Linked DNA regions of Homo sapiens: regions 2, 3, 4 and 5 are each linked to region 1. The links are contacts of gene promoters, found by promoter capture Hi-C in human tissues and cell types (Jung and others, 2019). All regions are on one chromosome and are shown on one strand. The core of a region is centred on a gene start or on the middle of the fragment in contact, and the rest is flanking DNA. Distances in the headings are between cores, read along the strand shown.

Region 1 (4,867 bases), core at 1,317-3,816:
GTATTTTTGAAGGAAAAATACTGGACTAAATGAGGTCCTCTTGAGAACATATGAAAATCAGAGCCTCAGTCTACTTATTGAACTTGCCATGTGCCTTGCACACAGGGCAATAAACATCTGCTGTCTGATCAAGGTCAGGTTTACCATGATAAGCAAACTTCCTTCCAACATTATCGGAATTCTGGGTTTATTTTCCACGAAGGCCAAGATGGAACCGAATTAATCATAACTATTTTCTGTGCTATTTTATCACAGCCTAAGTGCTTGGCTCATACAATCATCTTGTCCTTACTCCAGACTAGGAGTCAAAAACTGGTCTGGTGAGTTTACTTTTTCTTCTCATATCTGGGCCATACAAACACAAATTTTACTACATATACATGACTATAACACCTCATAACAAAAAAAGAGTAAGTGAAATGAACAGCCACATATCCAAGTGGATACCATCACTTGGTGACCCAGAGCTATATAATAAAGCTACAGAACCACTCAGGAAAAGAGCATCAGCGAGAATGGTAAGAATTTAATACAAAATCTCCCTATATATACTGTCTGAATTTATTTAACAGGCTCCTCCAAGAAGATAAAAGGGGTCACTGACAGTCCATCCTGTTGTTTCCATGGAGGCTTTAACTTAAACAACTGCAGACAAATTTCTCTTAAAGGAAATGTATTCCCACTGTCCTTCAATACAGGAAAATGACAACCCTTAGTCAAGTCTAATTAAAATTTTTCCGGCTGAAACATCTGTAACAGCGGCATGGGAAGCCAGTGAAATGGTCAGTTGCATGTACACAACACAAACACCACTAGTTAAAAATACTCCCTTAAGGCCGGCCACAGCAGCCTTACTGCTGCAGTGAAACGGAGAGCCCCACACAACTCAAAAAACCAGTTCTCAGAACCACTTGCCCTGTTCTGCTTCCAATGTAGACATCTAAAGGAAGCATTGCCCAGAAAACCCAATCCGTAATTTTAATAAGCATAATTTACGGAAGAGTCAACTACTGTGTGATTTCTCCTCTGACTGTCATGGGAATCCCTTCCTTTCCTTGCCCCCTTTCAAATACAGCATCTACCAAGATGACCCCAAGGAAAGTACTTTCCTCTAGAAACAACCAGAATTGATATTGCAGGGAAAGGAACGGGCTTCTCCTCTTATCCCACTCGCAACTCCTCCCCTTCTTCCCCAAGGAACTCTTCTCGCCTCCCAAAATCTGCCTCAACAATGGCCCAAGATTCCATTTAACCACGTCCTCTCCTTTGGGGCAGAAATCTCTGGGAGTAGGGGCAAGGTAGTTTAACCACGAACGGGGTGGGGACTAAACAACCCTAGCACCTCTAAGGTGCCCCCAGGAGGTCTTGCCAAGGAGTCTTCCACAGGGAGAGTCATCCTGCCCGTTGTTCTGGATCTTGAAACTTGGGAGACCCACACCAAAGGAGGGAACCGGTTCCTTTACCCTTTAAGCGCGTCGTGTCCTCCACCGCCTCTTCTCTTGGCCCGACTGGCTCTGGTTTCCTTCACGTTCCCAGCCTCCAAATTGGCGTCCGCCCCATGGCTCGTGTAGGACGCTAAAAGCACGGTAAATCCCAGGGCGATCTCCAGCAGACGCCCTCGACGCATGATGCCGAGCCGCCACCGGCTCCCGCCGCCTCTTGCCGCGCCCGGGGCTCGGTCTGCGGCCGCCGCTGCGCCCTGAAGCGCACCGCGCCGCCGGGGTCCCGCTATCCCGCCGCCCGTCCCCCGGGCCGGGCTCCTCCCGCCTTCTCCAGGCGCTGCTCCCACTTCAGGCGGCCCCTGCCAGCTGCAACACAGAGACAAATCCCCGAGGCGGGGAGACTTTCAGGGCATCGGGATGCTGAAGCCTCGCGGTCCCCATTCCCAAGCCCAACCCGTGCGCCGCCTGCGCGTGGCGCAGTTAATTTGGGTAAGGGAAGACCGTTTGGTCCACAGCTGGCTGGAAAGCCCAGGCCCCCGGCGGCAGCAGCCCCGGCCGATCCCTCGGCCTCCCGGGCCCCGCCAGAAGAGCGCGGCGCAAAGTACCCATATCCCCAGCGGTCCTAAGCCCCGGGCGAGCTCTCTGGGTTTATTTTTTTTAGCGGCACGAATTGCGCGCGATGCGCGCTCTGAACGCCCCACTCCTCAGCCTGCCCTCTCCGCCAGGCTGGAAGCCAGCCGCGCCGTCCCCGCCGACTCCGGGCGATGCCACCGCCCCCCGAACATCTGACGCGGAGCCCGGCACCAAGAGCCCCGGGCCAGGAAGCTGTCAGGCAGGGGAGGGCCAGCGCCAGCTGTGGACGTTCCGGGACAGCCCCTCACCCCAGTCCCTGTCCCTGCCCTCGGCGCGGCGCAAACGCAAAAGCCTCCGTGGCCGCAGCTCCAGCCCCGGTGGCCGCCCGACCCCCGTCGGGACCCCGGCTGCACCCACTGGAGAAGCGGCGGCTCCGACTCCCGAGGAGGCGGCGGCGGCTGCTCCCAGTCGTGGCCGCTACAGCCACTGCTCGGCTCCGCTCGCAGCTGTCCCAGCTGTGGCTCCTGTCCGCTTGTGGCACCCACAGTCTCTGCCGCGGCTCCCGCAGCCCCCTCCTTTCCCCACCTCTTCAAGTATCGTCCGCGCAGCGGTTTCTCGCGAGAGAAATACTTTTTTTAAAAAAAGAAAGAAAAAGAAAATGACACCCCCTCCTTCGTCGCCCTCATCACCACCCCACCCCCCGGCCCCATCCATCCTCCCTTTCCACTCCCCTTTGCCAGCCTCCGCCTCGGTGCGGGGCCTCTCGCTCGCAGGATTAGCGCAGTGGGAGGAGGCAGAGGTGATCAGGTCCTGCCCGGCCTGGGACTTTTTGTCTTGAGGTGGGGAGGGGAGAAATGGGAAGAGGTGGAGTAGCGGTTTTAGCCCGCTCTGCGGCTGCGAGGTTTAGATCCGAGATTAACCTCTCCCGCGATAGGTGAAGCCCTACCGGAGCAGAAAGCTGTTCCACCTGCACCAAGAATGCGCGCTGGAGACGGTTGCCCCGGAGGCCCTGGCCCGAGAGAAAACCAGTCCCCGCTGCCCGCGCCTCCCGGTAGCGCGCTCCCTGCGCCTCTCCCGCCGGACACTCAGCAGACGCCGGAGGCCGGGAGGCTAAGACTGGGCGCGTCGCAGGCCGGGACCGCGGCAGAGGCTGCTGTGCCGACCGAGGAGAGGGCTCTGCCGCCCCCACTTGCCCTGGGTGTCGAGAGCCCACTCCAGACGCGGCTCTTCTGAGGCTCAATTCAAGCCACCCAGGCCTGAATCCAGGGTGCTCTCTCTAAGTCGGTGTCCAACCCAGGGGCCTGTAAATGTTGGAACCTAGGATGTAGGATGGGAGCGGTGAAGGGATGGTCCTCTTGCCCAGCCCAGATTAAGACTGGGGTTCATCTGGAGGACTCTACTTACACCCTCCCGGTCCCCTCGCCCTCCCCCACACACAGCTGCCTCTCCCCAGGATATGCGCGGCACAGTGAATTTAGTGGCTTTGAAAGGTATAGTATTTGTGGCATCCTTATATGGATAATGCCCAATGATGCCTGCACCCTGTAACAGTTTAGGAAGGCCTGAAGTCGCACACTGGGTCCTGGCTGCTGTAACTGGAGACCCCCAGAAGATCCCCTGCAAGCAGCCACCAGCCTGCTGTCAAGCCAATAATAAAAGCTCAGCACAAACAGGTACCCTGGGAATGTATCTTGTTGAAAGGGATTTTCCTTATTTGTAACCGTTTGTAAAGGGGCCCAGACAGTAGGGTAGAGAGACCTGGGCAAGTTATTCAACTTCTTTCCAAATACAAGATGGGACTTGTAGTGTCCACCACACAGGGTTGTAATGGTGATGATGGACATGCTGAACTGCTGTGATACATGAAGATGAAACAGAAAAACTGTGGGAACTATGAGCTGATCTAAAGCCATAGTCCTGTAAGTATGTATGTGGTGTACTTTAAGGTCTCACCTGCAAAAGGTCTCTTAGCAGATTCATGAATGAGAGCCTTGGTCACACACTCCTGGCTGAGTAAAGGAGATCATTCATTCAAGATGTTTTTACTGAGCACGAACTGTGTACTACTTAGTGCATTGTTGAACTAGACTTCAACAATTTTAACAAGGCAGGTTCAACAATTTGAACACGACTGACTTCAACAATTTAGTGAAAAGGGCAGAAATGTGTCTCCCCTCACACAGCAGGTAGTCAACAAGGAAAGGCAGACTTGAAACAAATAATGGACCAATTGTTAAGCGCCAAACAGGATAAGTACTGGGTGCTTGCTTGGAGGATATATAACAAGGGGACTTGACCTAGGCTAGGGCTGATCAGGAAAGGGATCCCTGAGGAAGTGATATTTAACTTAAGTCTAAAACATAACTAGACTCTACTTAGGATAGCAGTTCTCAACCCTGGCTATGCAGTAAAATAATAAGAGGCTTTAAAAAAATTCTGACACCAGGATGGGCATGGTGGCTCATGCCTGGGCCTGTAATCCCAGCACTTTGGGAGACCAAGGCGGGTGGATCACTTTAGACCAGTAGTTCAATAGCAGCCCGACCAACATTGTGAAACCCTGTCTCTACTAAAAATACAAAAATTAGCCAGGTGTGGTGGTGCATGCCTGTAAATCTTGCTACTCAGGAGGCTGAGGCACTAGAATCGCTTGAACCTGAGAGGTAGAGATTGCAGTGAGAGGAGATTGTGCCACTGCACTACAGCCTGGGCAGAACAGAGTGAAACTCTGCCTCAAAAAAAAAAAAAAAAAAAAAAAATCTGACACTGACACCAGGCCCCAACACCCAGAGTTTCTGATTTGAGTAGTCTGTAGTGGATTCTTCACATGGATATTTTTTAAAGCTCCCTGG
Region 2 (4,867 bases), core at 1,551-4,050, 510 kb after region 1:
GGCAACAGAGTGAGACTCTGTTTCAAAAAAAAAAGTTAAAGCAATTATATATTCAACTTCATTTTACTGCTCATGTAGCGTAGGCCCTAAAAGGCTGGGAAAATATGACCAAGTTAAAACACTGTATGTTTAATAAAAAATCTTGCAAAAGTTAATCAAGTACTTCATGGGACAAAAAGATTCTCACTGCTATTGCTACATTACATTCTCAAAGATGATCATCAGCTTGATCACAGTGCTAATAAGTTATGTATCCAACAGACTATTGCTTAGGAAAGAGGTAAGCAGAAACACTTACAAACACAAACTAATAATACAAATGCAATTTCTCAAGAGATGACATACAGCTGGGCATGGTGGCACGTGCCAGTAGTCTCAGCTACTTAAGAGGCTGAGGCGGGATGATTGGTTGGGCCCAGGAGTTTGGGCCCAGCCTGAGTAACACAGCAAAATCCCATCTCTAAAAATATATACATGTGTAAATAAATAAAGAAGACATACAAATGGCCAACACATACATGAAAAAAAAAAAGGTCAATATCACTACCAAGAAATGCAAATCAAAACCACAATTAGAATGGTTATTAATCAAAAAGACAAAAAATAATAGAATGCTGGCAAGAAAGTGGAGAAAACAGAACTCTTCTACACTTTTGATGGAGATGTAAATTAGTATAGCCATTATGGAGATTTCTCAAAAACTAGAAGTAGAACTACCATAAGATCTTGCAATCCACTCCTGGGTTTATCCAAAGGAAAGAAAATCGGTCTATTAAAGGAATACCTGCACTCCATGTTCATTGCAGCATTATTCATAACAGCAAAGACAGGGAATCAACCTAAGTGTCCATCAATGGATAAACGGATGAAGAAAATGTGGTATATATACATAATGGAATATTATTTGACTATAAAAAAGAATGAAATTCTGTCAGTTTGCAGCAACATGGATCTGGAGAATTAGGTTAAGTGAAATAAGCCAGGCACAGAAAGACAAATATCACATGTTCTCACTCAGATCTGGGAGCAAAAGAAGTTGATTTCACGGTGGTAGAGAGTAGAATGATAGGAAGGGTGTTGTGGGGGGAAGAGGAGTGGGGAAGTAAGAGAAGTTGGTTAATGGTATGTACAAACCAACAGTTAGATAGAAGGAGTAAGTTCTAATGTTTGACAGCGGAGCAGGGTGACTATGGTTAAAACGTATTTTATATTTCAAAATATCTAGAAGAGATGACTTTAAATATTCCCTAGACACAGAAATGATAAAAACACAAGGTGATGGATATCCTAAATACCGACTTGATCACTACATATCCTGTGCATGTAACGAAACCCCCCATAAATATGTACAAAATACTATGAATCAATTAAAAAAATACAAGCACATATAAAAGAAACATTTTGATAACAAAACACCTGTAATATAAATAAACAGGTAATAAGTAAAAATGGACAGATACATATTCTTAATGAACTGAAGTCACTGCCTACAACTGGCTTGCACAAACTAAAATGTAAGGTAGAAACCATAACTATTAGCGAAACTACATTTAACTTTAAAAATTATAAAAATCTCTACTATGACTTTCAAATAATAGCGAGAATTTCCTTTCTCCCTTTTGCAAAGTGTGCCTTATTTTAAAATGCAAAAAACTGAAAATATATACGAAAAAGTTATAGACTAATTCAAAACAATGTATTAATATTTTGACAATCTCTGGCACTTAAAATGAGTCAGACGTCCCAAAACATCTATTTCGTAACTTTATGATAATGCAGCATCACCATAAAAGAACCATATGAAACACCCCCAAAATAAAGAAACACAGCAAAATTGACGTTAATTCTGGATCAAGATAATTTTCTGAGTTTCCACACGATGTTTTTGAATAGCAAACGTTATTCAAACTTGCAAATCCATTAATAAATGAAGCTTTGAATCTTTAAAAATCTCCATTCGGTCAGAAAAATTCGTTTATTTCTATGCTGTTGCTGTTTTAAACTTTGTATACTGGGAAATTTCTAAGGGAAAAGCCATGGGTTCAATTATCTTTCACCCGTCCTCCAAAAACACCACAAGCAAAACCTCCTCCCCAGCTTTTCTTTATAAAGAACTGAAAAAGTGGTTCGACTACCTTTTTTTCAGTTATCTTTGCTCTGAACTCTCCCCTACACACTTACCTCGGACCAAAACTGGCCCTGGCAAGACTATTTAAGCTATGTCTCCAGGAGACTCACAAGTTGCGTTTCGCAGTCAGGCCTGGGAGCAGTAAGGACACCCCCGTTTTCTGACTTCTCCTAGCATTTCGCACCCGCTCAGTTCCAGTGTGAAGAAGTGGGGGCCCGGAACGCTGGGCCCGAAAGGGCAAAGCCAGGGCCTACACCGCAGCATGGTCACCGAGGCGGCTAGCGCGGTGGGGAGGCAGAAGACAGAGAACCGAACGCCTGGGACCAGGGGCATCCGTGTAAACCGAAGAGGCGCTCAGACTCGGAGGGCAAGGCCCGGGGCCCCCTTCGCTGCCTCCTTTGCCCTCCCTTCCCCCATGCTGGAGAAGCAGGGCCCGGGCCCGGTGCGGGAACGGGGAGGAGGTAAACCAGTCCTGTCACCGCACTGAGAGAGGCTGTAAACGGCACATGCTCTACGGGGAGAGGCCGCGGGCGCCCCGGCCCGGACCCCGAAAACAAGACACATCACCACCCTCAGAGTTCCATTCCCTGCGCCTCACCAGGTCGTAGTCCTCCTCATCATCGCACATGAAATCATCCTCCATGTCAGACATCTTGGCCGGGAGGGGGAGGAGAAATTGGAGACAACCTCCTCCCACAATCCTCCGCGGCTCAGAGGCGTCACTCTCAGCTTCTTTCCGCCTTCCAGTCCCTCTTAGAGGAGCTGTTTCCTGCCGGAACTAATTATCTCGACTTGTAGCTGATTCGCTACGACTCCAAAAGAGACTGCACCACCCCCCGTTTCCTCCGAAGTGGTTGGTGCCTTAGCAACTAAAGCTGGCAACTGGGACATCGTCCGGTGCTGCAGGTCTCAGCCGAAGGGCGTCGGAAACTGCGCTCGCATCGAGCAGTTTCCAGCCTCCTGGGTAAAGGAGCAGTCTCCTCCCTTGCTTGGGACTCTGGACGCATCTCATTCCGGTGAAAGTAAGGGACAGCTTAGGACCAGAAGCCTTTCGCGGAGAAAAGGCTGACATGCCCGTCCTATATGACAGGTATTATTTCTGCTATCATTGTACGTGTGCATTTAGCCCACACATTGCGGTGGGTGTTCCTAAGATACTTGGAGTACTTTTCAGCAACACAGTTTACACTTAATGCTTGTTATATTTGTAGTTGACAAAACAATTCTATGGATATCCTAAATTAGGTATGCAGCTATCAGTTGAGTTGCCTTAAATCTTACTCAGTTGTTCAACGAGTTGTAAACTGACCTTTACAGCCCTTGGGACCAAATTAAGGTAACAACGACTGGTTTTTAAAAAATACATTACTGTGAACCTGAGGGCATCATGTTGTAAGGAGATGGGGGCTGCGGTGACTCGCGGGATCAGGAATTTCAAGAGAACCGAGCGGAAAGGGAAATCCGCAACATGAAGCCCTCTCTCGCTCCCAGGCACCCCTCTACCAGCAGCCTCCTGCCAGAGCAGATTAGTCTCTATCCAGAAATTAAGGGAGAGATTGCTCGTAAAGATGACAAGCTGCTGTCATTTCTAAAATATGTGTGTGTTGATTCCAAAGATCCTGTGTCTTCCGTGCAGCTGAAAGCTGCTGAAACACGTCAGGAGCCAAAGAAATTCAGATTGCCGAAAGGCCATCACTTTGATATGATAAATATTAAGAGCATTCCCAAAGGCAAAATTTCCACTGTAGAAGCATTGACACTTTTCAATAATCATAAACTTTATCCAGAAACATGAACTGCTGAGAAAATAGCGCAAGAATATCATTTAGAACAGAAAGATGTGAATTCCCTTCTTAAATATTTTGTTACTTTTGAAGTCAAAATCTTCCCTCCTGAAGACAAGAAAGCAATACAATCAAAATGAAGAAAATCACAAAAATTTCCTATGTGTACTCCTCATCCCTCATCCTGTATATTTTCTTATTTTTGCATATTAAATTATGTTAATTACCAAGTGTTTAATGCTCTCATTGTGAGAGCATCCTCTTAATATTTATTGAGCTCCCTGAATTTTCAAGATTGCCATAGACTGTATTTTGTTTTCTTTTAATTTGGTTTAGGCATATTTCATATGTACATGTTAGCATGACTAATCAGCACATCTGTACCTTTATTATAAGTAAAAGAGTTAATTTGTTATTTTAGACACATCATACCAACTTTTAAATTGGTCATATGACCCCTTGGGAAGTGTCCTGAATCCCTCATTTAAGTTTTCCTATCCAATTTAGGTGTTTAGTTCATTCTTCATATGTGATAGTGAAAGTAAAAGCTTTCCTGACTCTTAAGACTGACATTTTCTTGCTAGGGAAAGAGACTCGATAGTAAGGTAGACTAACAGTATTTCCCAAATAAAGGCACATAGGAGAAAATAAAGAATCAATAAAATCTAATTAAAATTACTACCCCAGGGAATAAGAAGTATTGAGGATTTATTTTATTTTGAATTGGTTTTAAGTATGGAATAATTGTCTTTACAGTTATAAAAAGTAATTAGTGGTGTTTACGAAATGTTGGGAATTTCTGCTTTGACAAATAGTTAAGTCCCATGGCCTTCAGAGAGAGAGGCAGTAGTAGAAACTTTCGAAAAAGTAACATTTCTCTGGATTTAACATGGAACTAGAAAAATTTAAAGAATAATTAAAAAACCATGGTAAATGAAATTTGGTGATTATATAT
Region 3 (4,867 bases), core at 1,426-3,925, 410 kb after region 1:
TTCATCTCAAAACCATCTGCCCCTTCCTCTCCTCCCCATCCATGGAAAAATTGTCTTCCATGAAACGAGTCCCTGATGCCCAAAAGGTTGGGGACCATTGAACTAGACAGTTCCATCTGGGGATGATGGGAGACAGTAACAGATCATCAGGCATTAGATTCTCATAAGGAGCGTGCAACCTAGATCCCTTGTGTGCACAGTTCACAATAGGGTTCACGCTCCTATGAGAATCTAATGCTGCTGCTGATCTGACAGGAGGTGGAGCTCAAGTGGTAATGCCAGAGATGGGGAGCAGCTGTAAATACAGATGAAGCTTCACTTGCTTGCCCACTGCTCACCTCCTGCTGTACAGCCTGGTTCCTAACAGCCCATGGACAAGTACCTGTTAGGGGGACCCTGGTATACAGTCCTGAGTCTGAAAGGGCTGTTTAGAGTTATGAGACTATGGATACAAGGTTTGCGGTCCCAAAGTTTTGCTGCAGTGTGTGTGGCAAGGGCAGTCTTTCTCTTCACTTCCAGAAGACCCAATATCTTGGTTCTATATCATCAATGTTTTAATTATCCTGAGTCAATGGGTCATTAAAATTTCCTTTGCCTGACTAAAATACACTTTGGCATAATGCATTAAAGCCTTGCGGCAATTAGTCATATCAGAGTACAGGAATGGAAGAGATATAATGTTCTATTATTAGGAGGATAGGCCTTCCAGTGACTGTTTCATAAGGGGTCAACTTATGTTTTCCTCTGGAAGTGGATCTGATTGCCATCAATCTTCAATACTTTGGATCAAGGCAATCCAGTCGATTCATTTAGCTTTGCCTAATGCTATAATACTTTATTTAACTTTTCTACAACCTGTCCAGTGAAACAAGTACCTCCATCACTGGAGATTTCTTCAGAATTCCCCATGAGGGAAACACATTTTAAAATAACCTTTTAGCTACTGTTATAGCATTGGCCTTCTTGCATGGGAAAGCTTCTATACAATCAGAAAATGTGCGTAGAATGGCAAGTGAATGAAATGCCCTCATAAATGTTCAAAAGGCTCATCATGTAGCAGAAATGTACCCCAAATTTTGATATTTTCCCTTAATTATGGATTTGACAAACTAAACATTGATCATAAGCCATTTTAGCAGTTTAGAATAGTCACCACACACACACACACACACACACACACACACACACACATAATTTAAATCATTTTACCTCTTTCCTAATAAGTCATAGGGTATACAGCTTTTAATAATGGAAGCTATAAGGACTCAGGAAGGGCCAGGCAGCCATCCAGGCTCTCCATGAGTCCACACTTAACATTGGATTTTTATCATTCTTAAATAGCGATTTTGTTGCACAGCACTGTTTGTTAAATCTGTTATCATAGGTAATTTGCCTTGGGCCATGGAGTTCATTTAAGTTGAATTTCTTAACAATTTCAGTACTGGCTCATTTTGCATAACATTTGGCAAAATTTTTTCTTGATATTCAATCAATTCTTGTCCTGCTTGGTTTAGCAGTTTTATGAATCAGTCAGTCTCTTCATGAGAGTTCTAGGAATTCCTACCCAGTCCAAATTATATGATCCTAAAGTTATCAGAACCGTGTATTCAAGAGTGCTTCTCAGGGTCCTTTCCATCCTTTCCATGAGCCTCCTTGAAGGCACAATACTCTAGGATTTTAGTTGCTTATAAATAGCTTTCAGAAAATGCACCAGAATTAAGCAATTAACTGGAAGCAAGACTTAAAATGGTCACGGTTAAAGACACAATTGACAAGGAAATTTGGTTATTTCTGTGACCTACAATAATTAAACATACTAACTATAACTATGACTGATAACATATACCAAGACATATCAGAATTTTAGGAGTCTCATACAATTTTAGAACATATATTAATAACATATCCTTAAAAATATAACATGAGAAGGTTAAACATCATTTCTTATTTGGCAGTAGTCAAACTTCAGAAGCTTAAATAATGCAGGAACAATTTCTTAGCATTACTAGTGTTCCTACAGTCATGATACTGCACATTGCAATTTTAAATATTAAAGTCCACTATTAACCAAAGTCAGATGAGGAACAAGATTATTTTTGGCTAGCTCTGCTAGTATAGGATACTTCTGATAGTGATGTCATCATCTGTTATTAAGCTTCCCTTCCTTTCTAATAGAAACTAAGTTTTATCCGCTTTTCTGCTGCTGGACTTGAAGATTTGGTCAATGGACATGATTCCATTTCATTGAAGCCCCCTAGAAACTGAAGTTTGTGCTGTGCTTGAAGAAGATGCTTTGTGGATATTTTCAGATGCACACCTAAGATTGTTATTCTCATTTAAAATTTTAATTTCTAATATGCGTTTATTTCTGCATGCCTTTTATTATTAATTACATTGTATGAATATTAGTGGTTCAAAAGGATGTAATTTTCTTTCTAAATTTATGTAGCCCATCTTTTGTATAATTGTATTAATTTTCAATTATTTTCTTACCTAACTACTTGAAAGTTCTACATTTTTGCATAAAATTAACAATTTTCACAATTACCTTTATTACTGAAGTTTATATTAAACAATTAATAGAATTTCAACAGAGGAAATACATCCAAAATGCTTACCTATATTTGAAAGTGCATATCCATATATTAACACTAACTCTGACTAACATACTTTGCTCTTATAATTTACATAGTTATGCTGATTAGATATAATGGTTACCCAGTAAGATCACATGATGGGGAGGCCATACCCAGTTTAGACTTGCCAGAAGGTGAAATAGAAATTTGACAATATGACCTTCCAAAGGCCAATGCTAAAGGTGAAATTGAAAAGCAAATTTTGGCCAATGCTGAGGCCAGGGCACAGCTGAACTGGAGTATGTATCTCTCATTATTTGCAGGAAAGTAACATGATCTAATGGCAAGAGGGTGGTTAGGGTGACAGAACAGACCATGGAATCAAACCTGAGTAAAGATAGTATGAATCAAAATTACTAGAGATAATATCTTTATGTTTTCAGCATATAAGATGAATCCACCAAAATTCCTAAAAACTAGTGGCAAACTCATAAGAAAAAAGATTCCATTGATAATATAAGTGTTATGATGGAAAGAGCACTACTAGACTAAGACTTGATAACTTGGGTTTAAATTTTATCTATACCCATTTCAGGCCATGTGCCCTCAAAAGTCGCTTAAGCTTCCCTGGGCCTCAGTTTCCTCATCTGCACAATGCATGGGATTGTTGAGGGGTTCGAGTTGAGGTAACGAATGCAAGAACACATTGCAAGCCCTAGAGGAGTGGTTCTCAATCTGTGGCACTCTTAAAGCTAGAATATTCAGTCCCCTCTTAGACCGATTAAGTCAGAATCTCTGGAGCAGATAATCTCCCAATCAGCCATAGTCAGCCATAAAATTTTAAGTCAGATCATGTCACTCCTCTCTTCCAAGGAGCTCCAGTGGAGCTTCCCATCTCAGAGTAAAAGCCCAAGTCCTTAGAGGGGCCATTGAAGTCCCTATGATCAAGCCCCTACCATGCCTCTGGCCTTAATTCCTATTCCTCACTCACTTGCTATTCACTTGCTCACTCCTTGCTGTTCCCTTGTCATTCTAAGCACACTCTCATCTTGAGATCCCTTGGCCTTGCTGCTTCCACTGGCAGGAACTCCCTACCCCCAGTTAACCCACATGGCTCAAGCCCTCACTTCAGGCCTTTTCTTAAATGTGACCTTGGAGTGAGGCCTTTTCTGACCACCTTCTTTAAAGCAGGATGCAATACAGAGCGATCTAATGGACTATGGAGACTCAGAAGGAGGAAGGTAGAAGAGGGGGTGAGGGATTTAAAAAACTACATATTGGGTATAATGTACACTACTTGGGTGATGCGTGCACTAAAATCTCAGGCTTCACCACTGTATAATTCATCCACGTAACCAAAAACCACTTGTACCCCTCAAAGCTATTGAAATTTTTAAAAAAGAAAAAAAGAAAAAAAAAACAGCATGCAAACACACACACTGCCTCTCCTTTCCAGCTTTTTCTCCGTAGCACTTATCATCATCTAAAATGCTGTATGTCTGTTTTGTTTATTGACTGTCATTTTTATCTCAAATATAAGCTCCATGAAGGCAGGGATTTTGTTTGTTGTGCCCACTGCTCGATGTTTCCAGTGCTTGGAACACTGCCTAGCACATAGCAAGCCCTCAGAGCACATTTATTATTGCTATTCCAAATGGAAGCTCTGAGCATGCACCTTATTCAATCTACAAACTTCATTGATGGCTCACTGCCTATCCCAAATGTATTCTGTGCTTTCCCACCTCCCTGACTTTGTTCACACATTTTTTTTCTACTTAGTGTGTCTTTTTTGTATTGAAAATCATTTCCTCCATTTCCTGGATGAAACAGATCCTCCTCAAAATTCCTCTAGCTTGTTGTGCCATATCCTGCCTGAAATTATTTGTGTACTGTGTATAATTATTTATGTAATTATTTCCTTTCTAAGAGCATAAACTCCTTGAGAAATTACTCAACAGTGTTTTTTGAATGAACAAATGAGCTTGCCTTTAGAGCTGAGTCAGATGTTTACCAGAAAAAGGAAGACAGGTAATTAAATGGTGGATTTAAACGGAAAACTCCCTAGCTCCTTTGAGAATATTAGACGCAGGTAAGTAAAATGAAAACAGAAGACGATAACATCAAAAAATGATTTTTGGATGGTAAGATCAACTACATAATTAGCTGTCTTGTAAACAATCTAGTTTAGGTAAGAGTGAGTTGAAAAAGAATGAATAAATGCATAAATGGACTTGGAGAACTAGATAAAAATTGGACATGACATTCATTTTTATGGCAGTGAGGTCTTCAGA
Region 4 (4,867 bases), core at 936-3,435, 330 kb after region 1:
TGCAGAATCTATAACTTAAGCAATTGAACAAGCAAAAAAAAATCCATACAACTCTATTAAAAAGTGGGCAAAGATATTAACAGACATTTCTCAGAAGAAGACATACAAGCAGCCAAAAAACATGAAAGGATGCTCAATATCACTAATCATCAGAGAAATGCAAATCAAAACCACAATGAGATACCACTCATACCAGTCAGAATGGCTATTATTAAAAAGTCAAAAAACAGCAGATGTTGGCACGACTGCAGAGAAAAGGGAATGCTTATATACTGTTGGTGGGAATGTAAATTAGTTCAACCACTGTGGAAAGCAGTTTGGAGATTTCTCAAAGAACTTTAAACAGAACTACCATTTGATCCAGCAATCTCATTTACTGGGTATGTATCCAAAAGAAAATAAAACATTCTACCAAAAAGACACATGCACTCATGTCTTCATTGCAGCACTATTCACCATAGCAAACCTAGTTTTCTTTAACTAGGTCCCACTTGTCCATAGCAAAGACATTAAATCTACCTAGGTGCAGATCAATGGCAGATTAAAGAAAATGTCATACAAATACACCATGGAATATAATGCTGCCATCAAAAAAGACAAAATCATGTCCCTTGCGTTGACATAGGTGAAACTGGAGGTCATTTTCCTAAGTGAATTGACGCAGGAACAGAAAACCAAATACTGCATGTTCTCACTTATAAGTGGTAGCTAAACATTGGGTGCTCACGGACATAAATATGGCAAAAATAGATACTGGAGACCATTGGGGGAGAAGCCAGGAGTGAGGCAAGGGTTGAAAAACTAACTACGGGACCTAGAAGTAGCTTCTCCGTTCCTTCTCGAATCTCTGCCTGGTTCAGCCTGCCTGCCTCCACTCCTGCCTCCACCATGTCCATCAGGGTGACCCAGAAGTCCTACAAGGTGTTCAATTCTGGCCCCCGGGCCTCCTAATGGGATCATTAGTACCCCAAACCTTAGCATCATGCAATATACCCTTATAACAACCCTGCACATGTACCCCCTGAATATAAAAGTTAAAAAAAATTATTGACTAAGCTTGTTGAGCTTCTCCCCAGTGGGCAGCAGCAGCTTCCGAGATGTCCTGGGCACCAGCATGGGTCTGTGTGGAGGCTATGCGGGGCCAGCGTATGGGAGGCATCACAGCCGTCACAGTCAACCAGAACGTGCTGAGCCCCCTTAACCTGGAAGTGGACCCCAACATGCAGGGCATGCACACCCAGGAGAAAGAGCAGGTCAAGACCCTCAACAAGTCTGCCTCCTTCGTTGACAAGGTACTGTTCCTGGAACAGCAGAACAAGATGCTGGAGACCAACTGGAGCCTCCTGCAGCAGCAGAAGCCGGCTCAGAGCAACATGGACAACATGTTCGAGAGCTACATCAACAACCTTCTGGGGCAGCTAGAGATCCTGGGCCAGGAGAAGCTGAAACTGGAGGCAGAGCTTGGCAACATGCAGGGGCTCTGCATGTTTTTCGTGAAGGAGGACTTCAAGAAAAAGTACGAGGACGAGATCAATAAGCCTACAGAGATGGAGAATGAATTTGTCCTCATCAAGAAGGATGTGGATGACGCTTACATGAACAAGGTAGAGCTAGAGTTTCGCCTGGAGGGGCTGACTGACGAGATCAACTTCCTCAGGCAGCTGTATGAAGAGGAGATCCCAGAGCTGCAGTCCCAGATCTTGGACACATCTGTGGTGCTGTCCATGGACAACAGCCGCTCCCTGGACATGGACAGCATCATCGCGGAGGTCAAGGCGCAGTACTAGGAAATCGCCAACTGCAGCCGGCCCGAGGCTGAGATTATGTAGCAGATCAAGTATGAGGAGCTGCAGACACTGGCTGGGAAGCACTGGGATGACCGGCGTCTTACAAAGACGAAGATTTCTGAGATGAACCGGAACATCAGCCGGCTCCAGGCTGAGATTGAGGGCCTGCCTCAAAGGCCAGAGCAGAGAGCTTCCCTGGAGTCCGTCATCGCAGATGCTGAGCAGCGGGGGGAGCTGGCCATTAAGGACGCCAAGACTAAGCTGTCCGAGCTGGAGGCCGCCCAGCAGCGGGCCAAGCAGGACATGGCACATGGCACGGCAGCTGCCTGAGTACCAGGAGCTGATGAACGGCAAGCTGGTCCTGGACATCGAGATCGCCACCTACACGAAGCTGCTGGAGGGCTAGGAGAGCCGGCTGGAATCTGGGATGCAGAATATGAGTATCCACAGGAAGACCACCAGTGGCTATGCAGGTGCGCTGAGCTCGGCCTACCGGAGCGTCACAAGCCTTGACCTCAGCTAAGGCCTGGGACTCCAGCTTTGGCTCTGGCCGGGCCTCCAGCTCTTTCAGCCGCACCGGCTCCATCAGGGCCGTGGTTGCGAAGACGATCAAGACCCGCGATGGGAAGCTGGTGTCCGAGTCCTCTGATGTTCTGCCCAAGTGAATGGCCACGGCAGCCCCGCCCAACCTATCCCTCCTGCTGCTGCCTCAGGGCCTGAGAGGGAGGCCGCTGTGCAGGGGAGCACAGGGAACAGGAGGCCCACCTGAGGCTCAGCCCTGGCCCTCAGCCCACCTGCGGGGAAGTTTACTGCCTGGGGGACCTGCCTTGCCCATGCCTCCAATTACAAAACAATTCCATTTTTTTTCCCAAAATAAAACCTCAGCTAGCTCTGCAAAAATAAAAATAAAAATAAAAAAACTATGGGGTACTATGCTCAGTACCTAGGTGATGGGATCATTAGTACCCCAAACCTTAACATCATGCAATATACCCTTATAACAAGCCTGCACCTGTACCCCCGAATATAAAAGTTAAAAAAAATTATTGACTAAGCTTGTTAAACAATGCTTCAGTATTACACTGAAAGGACATGCTGTCTACCTTTTTGCCTTATTCTTTTTAGTGATGTTTAGAAACCTATCACTAAAGGACACCAAAATGAGGGAATTTCAGGCACCAGTCAATAGATGTATATGGATAGATACATACGAGTAGATATATTAGCATTCTAATATATAATTCTCCCCTAGAAACCACCTATATGAATGGCTTTGTTGATAAAGCAAATAATGAAATTAGAGAGGAACTTTCCTGAAAGGCTAATTCCATCCGACGAGCTCAGTTATTTTTCAATCAAAAATAAAATTTGACCAACTGGGTGTAGTCTGGTGATCCAAGTGTAGCCAAGACTTTCATTTGCTTTTCAGTTAGGTTTTCTCTGGGTAGAATCACACTGGCAAGGTGGTTAGACAGAGGCAATCTGCAATAAGAAAAAGCCACTGGGAGCAGACAGACTTGAATTTGATTCTAACCATTCCATCAGCTGATAGTCTCTAAACCTTGGCTTCCTCACCTGCAAGTGGGTAACTCTAAGTATCAAAAACAATGGAGCACTGTTCCCAAACCACTGATTATCTGTAAAAATGTTTTCTCCAGTTTATATAGAAATAGTAATAATCTTAAAATACATGGGGGAAAAGGAGGACCTTATAGTGAAGTTCTATTTAAACAGTGCTTTAAAAAAAAAAAATTTGAGATTGTCCTTCCTATTTTCTGTGTGTGGTAAAATGTCTTTTCCGTTAGGAAGTAATGGCAAACATGGATACTAGGCAGCTTTTTAAATGGCTCTACCTGGCAAAACATAAGTTAGCAGCCCTATTTCTATCTCCAAATGATTTTGGATATGCTCTGGGAATCACTGTAAGGGAGTCTGTGGATTTACTTTGTGAACTAAAAATACGTGTACAAAGTAAGCTATTATTACTGTAGTCTCCCAAAGTGCCGTTGCTTGTGTAGTGATGAAAATATCGTCCAGCTGGTCCTAAAGATGCCTAAAGAACGCACACTAAAAAAAAATGCTTTTTCCCAGGAGACTAACTGGGACAGGCCTCTCACAGAGAGACAGGTCAGGGTCTGCCTCTGGGTTAAGCCCCAGACTTCTTTTTAAGAAGAGGAATTTTATCTTACAAGACTTTTGCTTTTAGTGGGAAAAGTGAATAGCATGGTAGGATTCTCTATAGAGACTAAGGAACCTCTCTGGCTTGAGTAAGTGATGAGAGGGAGGAATGCAGTTTGCTGCAGGAAAGCAGGGATAAGAGAAGGGAGGATCTAGCGCAAATTTGAGAACCTGTATGGGGCTGGTGGAGCTGGAAATGGCCAGAAGGGGCAACACAGTAGTGTTTGTATGTGGGCTGGGAGAGCCCAGGACTTCTGTCATGATAAATAGTGCTGAAATAATCCCACGGAGCCTGGTCAGCTTCTTGAGCTGACCACATGTTTTAAACTTCTTTTTTTCATTTTGCATAGAAGTACTTCATTGATAGATAAGTTACAAAGATAAGTCAGATATGAAAACTAAATTCATCCATATCCTAATTTAGCCACAATCCTTATTCACATTTTAGCGACAAAAACCACCTCAGGCTGCTTTTCCCCTATACGTATTTTTTTTTTTCAAACAAAAACAACATAATATTGTGCATACGGTTTTCCACCTGCTTTTTTAACAAAAAAAAAATCTCCATATCACTGAATAGACGATGTTACTTTAACAGCTATATAGTACCATTGTGCAAATGTGGCATAATTTAGCAAATCGGAGAGGGGGTGGATTTAGATTCCTACACACACACACACACAATAGGACAGTGATAGCCATTGTTGCTAAATCCTTCCATACAAAATGCTAATTGCAGACGCCAGATAGCGGGTATATAGGTGTATATTGTACCATTCTTCCAACTTTTTAGCATGATTGCAATTTTTCATAGAAAGATTTGGAGGAAGAAGTTTTTTTTGACATATCCTCTCACAGATCCCAGTCTGATTATCTCAGAATGAGCTCTCAGAATGAGCTCC
Region 5 (4,867 bases), core at 1,467-3,966, 260 kb before region 1:
AACAGCCTGGGTTCTGTCCCAGTCCAGCTACCTGCAGGACAGAACATCCTTCAGTGCTTCATCCCACAGGGTCCTGTTACCCCAGATTATAAAACTCAGAATGGGTTAGTTTTAGAGTCTCAGCTGTGGTGCAAGTAGGGCATGCACAGTTGAGACTTCATCTGCCCTGTGTAGCTTTCCTGAGTCCTGGGGAACTGGCTTACAATGAATTCTGGGATTCTGCAATCTCTTGCTACATATCTGTAAGTAATAAATTTGCTTCATGTAACTTGTTGCATATGAGTGTGTTCTGTCTCACCAGACTCAGGCAAGTTGGTAATCAATGCACAGTGAACTACTTCACACAAAGCACATTAAAAGTGTCAGGAAAAACAATAATCAGGACAGAAAATCTTGGTCTGAATATAGAGTAAATAATAAAGGGGTATGATTTTAAGCAATTTGATAATATATAAGAAAAGGGAATCTGTTTGGCCTTGATGCTATAAACATTTTCCTTACATATCCCAGAAGACCTTTGAGAAGAAAATGCAATTCTAACATGCTACTTGGGTCAGCATTGAGCAAGATTTACTCAGTCACAGAAATACAAATGCTCTGTATTCACTTCTACCTTCTAAAATTAATCAATAGACAAAGTACAGATGCCTGACAGCTAAGCATAAATAAATGTTAACTGCTATGGTTATGCAAAAACTATGTCTATATTTGTAATTTACTCTACAAAAAAAGGAGTTGAGATATTGACCAAGGTTGATGGAGGATGAAATAGTGTATAAATGTGTTATTTAAAGTCACGAAGGCAGTCAGTGAAAAAACTGAAAAATAGTAACAGAACTATTAAAGATCAGAAGCATAAGGAGGAGGGAAGGTGAAGGATGATGTAAAGAGCTAAATTGACATTTTAAGAGTAAATTGATATCCTTAAGTGCTAATAGATCAAGAAATAGAAATCTACACCTATTATCCAGTACTGTGGATGTCAGTGTTTGCCTCAGGGTATGGCATGGGTGGTAGGGAAAGGTATAGAGAAAGACTATTATTTTAAAGCTCTTCTCCATTTTTTTTCTTAAACCATGTGTATTTGTTCGTTCTCACGCTGCTAGTAAAGACATATCCAAGACTGGGTAATTTATGAAGGAAAGAAGATTAATTGACTCACAGTTCCACATGGCTGGGAAGGCCTCAGGAAACTTACAATCATGGCAGAAGAGGAACCAAGATGTCCTTCTTCACACGGCAGCAGAGAGAACAAGAAGGAGAACTGAGCCAAGTGGGAAGCCCCTTATAAAACCATCAGCTCTTTTGAGAACTTATTGTCATCAGAATAGCATGGGGGAACTGCCCCGATGATTCAATTACCTCCCACTGGGTCCCTCCATGACACCTGGGGATTGTGGGAACTACAATTCAAGATGAGATTTGGGTGGGGACACTGCCATATCGTCATGCTTATTCTTATATTCATACAATATGAACTTAAATTATGCCCCACTTTATTTGTACCTATTCAGGACAGGGAGAACCCAGCAACCACCAGGGATCAGGCTTTTTCAAATGTTCATCATACACTATGCATTCATTTTCATTTTTCACCCTCATATCCCCCACAATAAAATAGGTGAGGTGCTGACCCCTGCACTGATGTCATTTCTTCGGAAACAAACATCACTGTTTCCAAGCTTGTCTATTTACTAGGCTTGGTGAGGCTGAGAATGGACAGCAGGGCAGGAAGCATTGTCCCCAATGCCCATAAGCCTTTGTTTTCTTTTCTTAGAGGATGACACTTAGAACATTCTGTTTTCACAGGTGGCCTCCTTGCTGAAATGTGAAAGGAAAATTGTGAACAGCAATTTTCAACCTGTTTACCAATGTTTTCCTGACATAGTACTCTTGTAGCTCTGCCTGCCTGGAGGGGAAAACAGGAAGGAAGCAGTGATGATTCCTTCCCTCTTTTCACTCCCAGTGGCCACCTTGGAAGGATATGAGGTGAGACTCTCTAGCTGGCCATTGAGTGCTGGCCTTAGCTTAGTCACTCAGAAACCATTGAGGAGCATCATACAGCCCTACAACCCTCCCAGGCCACATAAATTCATATGTGAACACACTGCAGAACATTTCCCCGTTGGGTATGTCCATAGTTCAAGTGAATTGAGAGTCACCTGCCCATTTAATTGAAGCAGCAAGATGAACTCTGAGCATGGGTGAAGCCTTTTGAAGCCAGGGGCAGGCAGAGGGCAGGTAAGCACTTTTCCAAAATCCAAAGCCAAAATGTAGTTATTGGTACTGTGGTAGCTCTAAAGTGTTAACATCCCTTCTGCAAATTCCTAACTTCCTCTAAGGGAATTGTTTCTACACTTAGTTCAATATTTCAAGAGAAATGCAAAATTAAGTAAACGAATCTTTTTTTTTTTTTCCTTTTTGAAGCCATCACAAACTTCTGGGTCACCTCATATTGACAAATATTTGTTGGTCAAAGAACTTAGAATACCATAGACTAAATTTTATATCAAGTGAATTCAGACCTTTATAGTTAAACCCATTCTCAGAGAAGATGAGAAACAAGATACCAGACCCTATGCTTGAATTGGAAGACTAAAGGTTATTAAAAAAAAAAAATCTATCTAAAGTGGTTACCATAGTGCCTCACCCAAAGTAGATTCTCATAATTGTAAGAGTGTTATCATTACTACTACTACTACTACTAAGGTTCTACTTTTTATAAAATAGCATAAGGATGTGTATGCTGAAAAATTTCTTAGTGATTATAACAATTAGGATGCTTTTGACAGCAAGTAACAAAAGACCTATGCAACTCAACATGGCTTACATGATAAAAATATTTATGATCCATATGAGAAGTCTAGTGGTAAAACAGTTCCTGAATGGGTTAATTCAGCACTTCCTTTATGTAATAAGGAACGTAATTCTTTCCATCTTGTCTGGCCTGCCAGGCTGACTGTGTCAGGTTTTGTTTTTTCCTCTAACGGTCCTATGGCTGAGACTCTAAATATTGCATTCTCACACACGTATATCTAAGTCTGGAAGACAGAAGCCTCCTTCCCTATGTCTCTTTTTAAGAGTGAGAAAAACTTTCCCAGAAACCTCATTGCAGACTTCACTTTCATCTCAGTGGCCGGAATTGTATGGCATGCCCATTTCCAAACCAAGGAAGGACAAAGGACTATATAATGCTCATAACTGGTCTGGGGGAAGAGGCCAATACTTCCTGAAGCCCATGTACTCCTGATACCCGAACAACATCAGGTGAATTCAGGTTGAAGAAATGGGGAATGGTCATTGGGTGCACAACCAACAGTAACAGCCACAGTGTTGGAGCTTTATGTTAATGTAATCAACCTGATTTCAGCCTATACTTTTCACAGGTCTAACTTTAGACTCTTTGAGATAGCAATGAAATCTTATTTGTCATTAGATTCTCCCCAAAATGCTTAACATTAAATGATTTTGTAGCTCAATAAAGTAAGACAATTACATATCTTTTCCATAGTTATGTTTTGTTTTCATTATGAGAACTGAGAGCTCAACTAATTAATAAAAACAGGATTTCCGGTTGTTATTTTTCCCCTGGTGACTTTTCCTTTTACGTTTATCCTGAGTTAAGAAAGTCTGAAACTGTCTTCATTAGGGTTGAACATTACCATGAGAATAGAGAGTAGAAAGCTAAGAAAAGCGTGCCATCAGAAATTTCTTTTTTCTAGGTTTCATCTCTATTCTTATCAAAATTTCAAATGTAATGGAGGTAGTGGGAAGAATGAATATTTTTGTTTGATGGAATCAAAATACCAAATTTTTCATTGAACTGAAATGATTAAAACTAATTTTTATGAGAAAAACAAATATAAGTTGCTAAATCAAATCCAAAAACCAATTACTAAAGTGCAAAAAGGAGGTATGGGAGAATGTGTGAGTGGTAAATCTGACCCTGCATGAAAAAACACTTAGACATTGATTTGGAAAAGCGTTATACTGCAAAAGCAATCCCAAAATCTTGTGCACAATGCAATAACAGTTTATTTTTCACTCAAGCAAATTGTGCTGCATGTCTGGGCAGCGTGCTAGGGCTGCTGTCCTCCATGTGTTGGCTCAGCATTCCAGCTTGATTCAATCTATGACAACTCTGTATCAACACATGGGTTGACAATAGTCAGGATGGGCAAAGAGATGCCTGGAAAGATGAGAATAAGCACTTAAGTGCCTGAACCTGGAACTGACATGTGATACTCTACTCATTTCCTATTGGCCACAGCTGGTAACATGACTATTTAAAAAACTGTTTTTCTCTATTCTCACAACACTTCTAACACTAAATTTGTGGGGATTTTTCTCACACCAACCAATTTTTCCAATTTTCAACTAGGTGTCCTACAATTTAACTCATTTCTGACACTATCTGCCCAGAGTTGGTGCCGACCCCACAGGTTGAGGCCTCAGTCCTACAAGAATGCACCACTAAAGGATCCCGAGCACAGAAGTTTCTGTCTCCATGGAATTTGGGGTGCTCCATCTTCCCAGCATGTGGATGCATTCTTGTTCACCAACCTGGAAGCTCTTCAAACCCCTTTGCTTAATTTTTTTAGGAAGGCTTCATGATATAGGCATGATTGATTAAATCACTGGCCATTGATGATCAACTCAACCTCTAGCCCCTCGCCCCTCCCAGAAAGGCAGAGGGTGTGAAACCAAGTTCCAATCCTCTAATCACATGGTTGGTTCTTTTAGCAACCAGTTCCTATCCTGAAGCCATCCAGGAACCCCAGCCACCAGTCATCTCATTAGCATACAAAATACACTTATCATTTGGGAGATTCTAAGGATTTTAGGAACTGTATTCCAGGAAAGAAGG

Evidence for each region. Contacts are between HindIII fragments. The study calls those that stand out against the background at their distance.
Region 2: the fragment with the promoter of COPS2 here is called in contact with the fragment with the promoter of FBN1 in region 1 in 1 of the 25 tissues and cell types used here (hippocampus).
Region 3: a fragment that was not itself captured here is called in contact with the fragment with the promoter of FBN1 in region 1 in 1 of the 25 tissues and cell types used here (aorta).
Region 4: a contact is called between a fragment that was not itself captured here and the fragment with the promoter of FBN1 in region 1, in 1 of the 25 tissues and cell types used here (IMR-90 fibroblasts).
Region 5: a contact is called between a fragment that was not itself captured here and the fragment with the promoter of FBN1 in region 1, in 1 of the 25 tissues and cell types used here (lymphoblastoid cells).

What each region holds. Positions count from the first base shown.
Region 1 is chr15:48,643,143-48,648,009 of GRCh38, forward strand. FBN1 (fibrillin 1) reads right to left here and starts at 2,567. Exons shown (of 66, transcript NM_000138.5): 1 at 2,433-2,567; 2 at 1,464-1,808. The coding sequence starts at 1,627. FBN1-DT (FBN1 divergent transcript) reads left to right here and starts at 2,663. Exons shown (of 2, transcript NR_183872.1): 1 at 2,663-3,688. RefSeq lists silencers at 1,542-1,591, 1,692-1,821, 2,232-2,411, 2,452-2,531 and enhancers at 2,605-3,129, 2,642-2,731. The HindIII fragment of the contact is 10,434 bases long and covers 1-4,867 here.
Region 2 is chr15:49,152,799-49,157,665 of GRCh38, forward strand. COPS2 (COP9 signalosome subunit 2) reads right to left here and starts at 2,801. Exons shown (of 13, transcript NM_004236.4): 1 at 2,727-2,801. The coding sequence starts at 2,780. It also overlaps a transcript of GALK2 not described here and the pseudogene NDUFAF4P1. RefSeq lists enhancers at 2,547-3,076, 2,835-3,753. The HindIII fragment of the contact is 9,462 bases long and covers 1-4,867 here.
Region 3 is chr15:49,055,159-49,060,025 of GRCh38, forward strand. No RefSeq gene overlaps it. Among named protein-coding and RNA genes, the nearest start is that of SECISBP2L, 11 kb to the left of the region's middle. The HindIII fragment of the contact is 4,062 bases long and covers 645-4,706 here.
Region 4 is chr15:48,970,913-48,975,779 of GRCh38, forward strand. It overlaps the pseudogene KRT8P24. Among named protein-coding and RNA genes, the nearest start is that of SHC4, 9.4 kb to the left of the region's middle. RefSeq lists an enhancer at 4,687-4,776 and silencers at 4,777-4,867, 4,837-4,867. The HindIII fragment of the contact is 5,600 bases long and covers 1-4,867 here.
Region 5 is chr15:48,379,103-48,383,969 of GRCh38, forward strand. No RefSeq gene overlaps it. Among named protein-coding and RNA genes, the nearest start is that of DUT-AS1, 50 kb to the left of the region's middle. The HindIII fragment of the contact is 5,458 bases long and covers 1-4,867 here.